Linked DNA regions of Homo sapiens: region 2 is linked to region 1. Evidence: promoter capture Hi-C in human tissues and cell types (Jung and others, 2019). All regions are on one chromosome and are shown on one strand. Each heading gives the region's core, a stretch centred on a gene start or on the middle of the fragment in contact. The rest is flanking DNA. Distances are from core to core; before and after follow the strand shown. Region 1 holds the start of STC2 (stanniocalcin 2). Region 2 overlaps CPEB4 (cytoplasmic polyadenylation element binding protein 4).

Region 1 (4,431 bases), core at 845-3,344:
TACTTAGTTTGAGAGCAAAATATATTTCCGCTTTTTAAACCCACAGACAAAAATAAAATTTTGAGTCGAAGACTGTACTTCATCAATGAAGTACCCTTCTCTACTTGATCTGTAGAAGTTGCTGCTATTAAATCACAGCCATTTGCTTCCTGACCCCCAAATGACAGCATCTAAAAAGCAGTTTCAATTCAGCTTTATGATTCAACACCTAAAAATCAAAACAAAATTCCTATTAAGGCAGTGCCTCCCAACCCTTCGCATTAAAATACCAGCTAGGGAAGCTGCGGTTGGCGAGCAGGCTTAGGAGTGGAGTCAGCTGGGGGCGAGCCTTCAGAAACGCCACTATCAGAGGTTGCAGGCTCCTTTTAATTAGGGATCCGGGTGAGGTATCACCCAATCCCCTAGAATTCCCGCAGCCCGGGAGGAAGCTTGCAGCCCTTCACCGAATGTGGCCCCCAGTCCTCTCTCGGAAGGGGCAGACGGAGGGAGTTAACTGTCAGGCTGCAGCGTGCAAAGCCTCTTCCCTCCCTTTCCACTACCCAAGTCTCTGATTTAAATCAACCACAAAATTACATCAGAAAAGTATATTTTGGAAGAAGGGCGGGGTCGGAGCAGATAACCCGCATCAGATTAAATCTAGCCAGAGAATGAGGGGCGTGTATTGTTGAGGGTCACCGACCACCGAGAATCAGGTTCAGTTCTCAGAGGAAGCGCCAGAGGAGGGGGAGGGTGGGCGAGGGTCTCGGGGTGGTGGGGGTGCCGGCCCCAGCATGTGGAGGCGACAGGATCCGTAAGACCCCACGCGCCGCCGGGGCAGGACCGCACAGGGCCGCCATTCACTCACTTGGGGCGTCCCTAATGGGCACTCGTGCATTCCAGCTCGTGCGGTGAGCGCACGCACGCCGCCGCTGCCGCGTTCACACGGCCCCCCAAAGTCGGGGGAGGGGTCGTGGAGCGAAGGAGCTGTAGGCAGATTTTCTTTCTCTTTCCGAGCTGGGAAAAGGGCCAGCCCCGTGCCCTGCACGCCTGGCTCTGCTTTGCAGCTTGCCGGTGAGCCAAGAGCCGGTAGAGCAGAGGAGGCGCACGGTTCGGGTCGTGTCACCATTTCTTGGCTTGCTGACCTGGCCAGGAGCTGGGGATGGCGGCAGCACCGCGGAGGTACGCTTTGCGCTGCCCTCACGCTCCCTTCCGAAAGCAGTGCCCCCAGGGGGAAAGTTCGCAATGCCATTTGTCTCGCCGGCAAAGTTCTGGGATGTCGGGCATCTTTTGAGGAGGGGGAAGACGCGGCACCCTTACTGAGGCCGGCAGGCCAGGAAGAGAAGTTCTCCGGGCGCAGGGCGCAGCCCAGCTCCGGGGACCCTCTGGGCCTCCCGCGTGCCGGCCGGGATGAAGCGCGCTTTGCACCGGACCCGGGATTCGGGGGCGGGGGCTGGCGCTGGCAGCGTCAGACGCTGCTTCATTTCCCCTCGACCCTGGGGAGGACAGCAACAAGTCCTGCCCCAGCCATTTCATCACCCTGCTAGCACGTGCAGATTCCGGGCCCTCGGAGCCCGGCGCGGACCTCGCCTTGCCTCGCGCTTCCCTTTGCACGTCCCGTGCCATCCCAAGAGTTTGCGTGGCCCTGGGTGGGCGCCTGGCTCCCGGCGAAACGCCTGGGGCGCGCCGCGTGGGTGCACGGTGTCCTCTCCCAGTAGCTCCCGGCTGCGGGGGCACATGCACTTACCTGTATTCTGCAGGGACAGGCGGCCTTTCTGCTGGGAGCTCCTGTCTTGGGGACCCTCGGGTGGGTTGGTGGCGTCGGTCCCCCGCGCCGGGTCAAAGGTGGCCAACACCAAAGCCAGGGTCATGAACTGGCCCAGCCGCTCGGCACACATGGTTCTTGGTATTAACCTCCCGTCGGGAGACCTGGATCCTTTGTGCTCCCCTCTTCCTCCTCCTCCTCTTCCTCCTTCGCCGCTTCCCCTCCTCCTCCCACTCTTCCTTTTTGCTCGCCTTTTCCCTCCTCCTCGCGGCCGCGGCTCGGATAGAGGTTACCCAGCGCCCTCCCGTAGCTCTCCGGAGAGCATGTGACCAGGCCGTTAGCAGCGCCGCGAGTGCCCGGCAATGGCAGGGATGGTGCCTCAAATATCCCTGGAAGCTCTGGTGTCACTTGAATGAAGGAGTCGAGCAGGTGTTGTCCCGGCGGCTGGACCAATCCGAGACCCCGGCCCTTTTGACAACACGGCCGGGAGGCGGGGCCTGCGCTCAACTACTACAGGAGGAAGCCGAGCGCCGCTGGGAGCGCCGGACAAAGTTGCCGACCTGGCGGCGGCCACGCGTTTGCGTGCGTGTGTATGAGTGTGTGTGAGCGCGGCCGGAGATGCGTGCGCGTGTGCGGGTGCTCCAGGGCAATGGTCGAAAGGACTGTACAATATAAGAGCGAATCCAAGCTCCAGTTGCTGTTAAAGGGGGACGGTGTGCTCTGGGACAGTGTCCCTGGGGCCCCTGGCTCGCGTCACACCCACATCGGGTTGGGAAAGTTTCCTCTTTCCGCCGTTTGGAATTCAGTGAGATTCCCAGCCCAGAGGACTTGATAAATTGAAGCAGTTTCCTAGGCACAATGATGCTGTGGGCCAACTGAGCACACATGGGAATTCCTGGCCTTGTGACACTTTGCATTAAAAAGAACCCCACGATTGAAGATAGGAGCAGAAGCACTAGATACAGTATTTGGTCTGAGCAACTGCCCTATCTTCCCGCTTTGGTGGGCCGTGCAACACCTGGAGTGTCGTTTCTCGTCTTTCCCCTAATCCAGACGCATTCCAGGCTGGGCTGCAGGGATCCAGGTGACAGTCAGGACTTGCATCATTTCCAGGAGGGTGGCAGGGAGGCCCAAGGCAGCCCTGAGTCAGCCCGCCGCGGAGCATCGCGTGCCCGGAGGCCAGAGCTTGAAAGGCAACTTTACGCGTCTCCAAACACACTCCTGCATTTTCTCAAAGCGCTGCTCGCCACCCCGCTCCGGGTTCCCTTTTACTCTCCAGTCATCCGATGGAAGTGGTGAGAACAAAAACAAAGACAAAAAAGCTAAATCCGGGGAAGTTATCTCCATCTCCTCCCTTTTCTTGTTCGGCCCCCTCCCCAAGAACCGCCGGGTCGGGATAGCCCCCGGCTACTTTCTCACCCGGCCCGTGGAGGGAAGGAGAAAGTTGGGCGCCGCTTGGAGCGCCTCTTCCCCTGCTGTGTGTGTACGTGTGCACGCTCACGTCTCCCCCGCGCCGGGGCCGGGGACAGGAACTGCTCTCGGTCCCGTCACCCCACGGCGCAGCTCGGGGGGCTCGCAGGGCTGGGGGAGGGCGGGGACACGAGCGCCGCGCCCAAGCGCCCCAGGGCACGCACCCGGCGTTGGCGCGCACTCGCCCCTCCCCCCGTCCCCACCCTCCTCCTGGAGAACAGGTGAGCCCCGGTACCAGCTCTCGATCCCCCACCCCCGCCCCGCGCCCCGCCCGCGCCCTCTGCGGTAATGCGCCTGGGAAGTTTCATCACCCACTGCCCAGGCGACGCGGCCCTGGGTCTCCGCGGCGGGGCGCACTGCCCGCCTGGTTGGGGCCGCCATGTGACACGGCTGGGGGAGGGGGCGAGGAGACACGCGGGCAGGTCATCTTTTGGCCGGCGCTTGACTTCCAAAGCTTTCCTTTCCCGTGTCCCGGCTGCACGCGGGAGTGGGGAAGGCGGAGGCGGGGGGCCAGGATGGCCACGGCTGGCCGCAGCTATCCGGCGTGTCGAGCTCTCCTGAGTCGGAAGGAAGGAGAGGAGGGGGTGGGGAGGGCGTCTTCAGAGTGGGCTTCCCCTGCGCTGGAGCGCCAGGGAGCATCCATAAATTGTCACTTTGAAGGTCCGAACCTGCGGCGGTAGGGACCATGCCCACTATTCTAATAGCAATTACTCCGCGCAGCCTTGGATCTTTTGTGCAAGGACGTGCGGGTACAAATACATTAAAACGGCCAGTTCACATTGCCCACCCTGCTTGTGTTTGCATAGTTAACTTAGCTTCCTAGTTTATGGAAAACTACCTCCTGTAGATCCTTAAAAACAAAGCAAACAAACGACACAGCGGCATTCTGGCCTCTCCTAACTAACTCTTTAAGGCTCTGAATTTCCTGAGAACAAGTAGCCATTTGGTCCCACTCCTGCTTATGGGTACAGCTGGGTAGACTTTCTTTCTATGTGGCCTCTTTTGTAGGAGAGAACATGAGCAATATTGACATTAAGAAGGCATCTGGTCACCTGTTTTTTTTTGAGAAGCAGAAATAGGAGAGAGCTCCATGGGGCAGGAGCAAGCCCTCTTTTGCCAGATGCAGACACTTAGTGTGCTGGGCAGAGGCCTCCCAGGATACCTGGAGCGATGGCCAGGGGGATGGAGCTCTCCCTGCTCCTGCTTTGCCCAGCCTTTGG
Region 2 (4,431 bases), core at 1,339-3,838, 570 kb after region 1:
CAAAAATTAGCTGGGCGTGGTGGTGGGTGCCTGTAATCCCAGCTACTCCAGAGGCTGAGGCAGGAGAATCGCTTGATCCCAGGAGGTGGAGGTTGCAGTGAGCTGAGATCATGCCACTGCACCCTAGCCTGGGGGACAGAGTGAGACTCCGACTCAAAAAAAAAAAAAAAAAAATCTAACATGCCTCCTGTGTTCTAAATGTTTTACATGTATTGATTCATTTAATTCACTCAACAATCCTATGAAGCAGAAATTATTATTATTTTTATTCACAGACAAGATTTGGCTCTTAATCATTATACTACAGTGCCTCTTCACATAATGATAATATGGCAGGGGGATAGTGGGTGCAGGTGGGGCTGGAAGGGAGAGTGCCTCCCAGACGCATGTAAGATGAGAGGAAAAAATTTTACAGTGATACATGATGATCAAAGGCTGATTGTAGATAGAGTATTGAAAGGGGAAAATAATTGAGTATACTTGTTTATCAACTTTAAATGTTAAACTTAGATAATATTTTGGTCAATGCTTTTGTTTTAAATTTTGAGCACATGTTATATACCAGGCACTGGGCTAGGTGCTTTCAAATATGTTATTTCACTTCCTATGTGGGATTTCTCAGCCCTGTGACATTTGGTTTTATTGTCCCAATTTCAAAATGAAGGTCCATATTCATGTGACTACAGGCATGATTGGACCCTTACAGTAAGGAAAAAAAAAATCCTGTCTTACCAAACATATCTTAGAATTCTGACATCCAAAGCAGATAATATATTGGGGCACCTGCCAATAATTATATTTGAGTATAGCATTTCTTTGGAGGGGTGCCTGGATCTTCTATCCTTACAGGAAAGTAAAGGAGAATTACTTAGTATATGTGCTGACACCCTCTTAACTACAGCTCAATTATGTTGCCGCTTTCATTAGCTAAGAGTCAGGTAGGAAGGAAAAAGACAAAATCAGTATGTCACAAAGACTATCCTAAAACTTGTTTGATAGGGAAACAAGTGTCTAGATCCTCAAAATTATATACTGCATCTTATATTTGCAAACAGAACACTGCTGGAGTGCTTCAGTTCTAAAAGTCATGGTGGATTATTAAAATTGTCTAATAGGCAACCTCATTACATTTTCTTGTTTCTTAATACAGTATCGTTCCAAGAAGGATCTTTGCATAGGAAACATTTTCTTTGACTTAGAAGGGGAGAAATCAGTTTTTTCAACTGTAAATTGTGGGTCGGATGGTTCTAGATCTAGCAGAACTGACATATTGGAAAAATCTTCCTCTTTGTAGAAGGCTTTTTAACTAGGTTAGATAGCTTTTCTGATGAAATTAAAACTAATTCCAGGGTAGAGTTTTTTTCTTTTTCTTTTTCTATCTTCAGAGAAGCCATCTTCAGAGAAGCCATGGAATATGATCAGCACATTGTTCCAACACCTTTCAGGAAAAACCTGTTTATCGCAAGCCTAATAAATGTGGTTGTTGCTGGTTGCAACTAGAAAGATGCTACTTAGCTCATGAGTTTAAGTTTTTGAAAGTCATCGTTGTTGGTGTTCATAAGAAAGAAATGGGGAACCTAGTTTTTAAATTAACATATGCCTAGGTTTGAATTTGACAGTTTCAGTTTATTTTCCTTATGACTTTCTCTATTTTGCTAGGAGGAAAATAAGCTTGATAATTCGCTGTCATATTTTTTCAGCGCTGTATTGTACCTCAGTTTTTGGTCTCATCTCACATAAGATAATGTGAATAATGTGCTTCTCTTTAAGGCAGAGAGCCTATAATGTGAGCATTTTAACTTTTTGTGACAAAATTCATTTTATTTTATGTTTAATTGTTCAAAGTTGCCTTGCAGAAATTAAAAGTATGTTTTACCATGATAAATTTAGAGCAATATATTTTTTAAAATTCAAATTTATTGGAGATTCCCATCCATTTTTTCTCACCGCATTTTATCTTATTGAAACAGAATGAGTTCCACCTTTAAGTTTTCAAAAAATACTTAGTAGATAGAAAGATAAAGTTGTTGATACTATTTTCAATCAGTTTCTGAAGGTGAAAAGTGAACAATTATTGAGAAAGGCTATTTTGTGAGCCCAAAAATGTAGAGTGAAGCATAGGCTGTGGACTCAGACTTAAGTTTGACTCTGAATTTGAATGTAATTATTTACTATATGAAGCTGTTGTAAAAATAAATAAAATGCATATATAAAGCTTTAAAAATTTTGTCTCTAAACTCTAATGAGCAGTGTGACCTTGAGTAAATCTTTTAAATTCCAGAAGAAAATACCGTATCAAGAAAATAATAACTGGCCGGGCATGGTGGGTCACACCTGTGATCCTAGTACTTTGGGAGGCCGAGGTGGACGGATCACTTGAGCCCAGGAATTTGAGACCAGGCCTGGGCAACATGGTCAGACCCCATCTCTAGAAAAAATACAAAACACTTTTTCTAAAATATGATAATACCTAACAGTGAAGGGTAATGTGAGGCACCTTATGTATGTGGCCATATTAGGTTGATTAACTTTTTAAATTTAAAATATGGCTTTCTTATATTGAATAAAGTTATGAAATTAGTTACAAATATAGCTTGTGTTACTGTGAAATATTTTAGTCATGCTTATCTTGCTATATATGCTTTATTGAATAAGCTATAGATGCAACCCCAGACAGATAAAATATTTAGCAGAATTATCAATTTTCTCGAAGAGAAGTTTTCTAATTAAATATAAGCTTAAACTTTCATTAGCATTGACAGCCTGTTTCTTTCAGGATTTTGAAAGATTTTGGCCACAGTTGTTTTATTAAGAACTTTAGAACATGTGATTGCTTTTGCATACATTAAAGGAGACTACATTTTAATGGAGAATTTATGATTTTTCAGTAAGAGATATGAAAGGGTGCCATAGATTTGAATTGAGAATAGTTTGGCTTTTATCCTGGAATCAAGAGTTTTTAAAAAATATTTTAATGTATTTAGCACACATTTATTGGAGCACCTACTATGTTATGGACTAAGCACAGGACTGTCATAAAAAATGAATCAGTAACATGGTTTGTAATGTATTTTTGACCTGTGCTAATCTTTGAGTAAGACTGAACATGCATTTTTTTCTCTTAAATATTATAAACAAATTATCAACTAGCCCAATAGTTTCATTTTAATCTATAAATTGTTTAATCATTAAGGCAAACTAACATTCAATTTTAGCTATAACAAAAAATTGTATAAATGGCATTTCCAAACTTTTTTATTAACGTAGTCATTAATGTGTTTATAAATATATGCTTATATTTGGAAATTTTAAATTTTTAGAAAATTATAATGTTTTTGGAAAAATATTTGGAAAGTGTAATTATCAATTATAAATACACACTCGTATAAGTTACCGTATGTTTATATATAACATGTGCTGATTTACATTCTATGACAAAATGGTACCACAAAAGGCAAACTTTAACTTGGATAGCAGAATTCTGGTCCTGTTACATGCCAAAGAAAAACTCCATCAGCTACCTATAGGTGCTCATTCATGTTTACAAATGGAATTATTCAAGTTCAAAGCTTTAAGCTGTACAAGCGCATTTTATATTGTAGGTTATTTTGGTTGGGCAATTTCTATTTGCTAAAGATTTATCAGATATATTCTAATCATTTTTTAGTAGACCAAAACTAAGTTATAATTAGTTCCTCAGTATTATATATTTTAAATCTATATTTATTTTAAAATACCATGTAACAATTTAAATAATAGTTCTTCCAGGTATTCTTGAGGAATGCATCTAGTCAATAGGATCATGGTACTAGTCAGTAAAATAGTTGCTGCCATTTTATTGTCTATGAGACCTTAAAAAAATAAAAATATAAGAACGTGACTCAGAATATTCACATACTCTGAAAAAATGTTATTAGAAAACTATCTCAGTTAATGGAAGTCAGATCTGGGTTCCAGATATGGCTCGGCCATTCATTAGCTATGTGACCTAGGCAAGCTACAGCACCTTCTGGGTCCTTTATTTTCTCATTTCTTTTGTCTGGTATTTTTGAGGATAAAATGAAATATGTCTAATATTTGGCTTCTAGAAGATTCTATTGTTTTAAGAAAGCAACTCATCAAACAGAAATATTAAGTCAAAGTTTTATTCAAAATATAGCACAATTTCTTAAAATCTGAAAACCCGTGTGTAACTGGTGTGTGATAATTTGAACTTAATTTTATTTTTTGAGACAAGGTCTCATTCTGTTGCCCAGACTAGAGTGCAGTAGCGCGATCTTGGTTCACAGCAACCACCACCTCCTGGGTTTAAGCAATTCTCGTGCCTCAGCCTCTCCAGTAGCTGGGACTACAGGCATGTGCCACCAGGCCCATCTAATTTTTGTACCTTTTAGTTCACCATGTTGGCCAGGCTGGTCTCGAACTCTTGAC

The links. The method cuts DNA at HindIII sites, captures the fragments that hold promoters and counts their contacts. A contact is called where the count stands out against the background at its distance.
Region 2: a contact is called between a fragment that was not itself captured here and the fragment with the promoter of STC2 in region 1, in 1 of the 25 tissues and cell types used here (dorsolateral prefrontal cortex).

The regions. Positions count from the first base shown.
Region 1 is chr5:173,326,320-173,330,750 of GRCh38, forward strand. STC2 (stanniocalcin 2) reads right to left here and starts at 2,095. Exons shown (of 4, transcript NM_003714.3): 1 at 1,724-2,095. The coding sequence starts at 1,874. It overlaps LOC124901137 (a long non-coding RNA gene), which reads left to right and starts at 2,280. Exons shown (of 2, transcript XR_007059056.1): 1 at 2,280-3,432. RefSeq lists a silencer at 3,289-3,508. The HindIII fragment of the contact is 8,569 bases long and covers 1-4,431 here.
Region 2 is chr5:173,894,466-173,898,896 of GRCh38, forward strand. All of the region lies in intron 1 of CPEB4 (cytoplasmic polyadenylation element binding protein 4), which reads left to right. Among named protein-coding and RNA genes, the nearest start is that of CPEB4, 8.3 kb to the left of the region's middle. The HindIII fragment of the contact is 4,022 bases long and covers 578-4,431 here.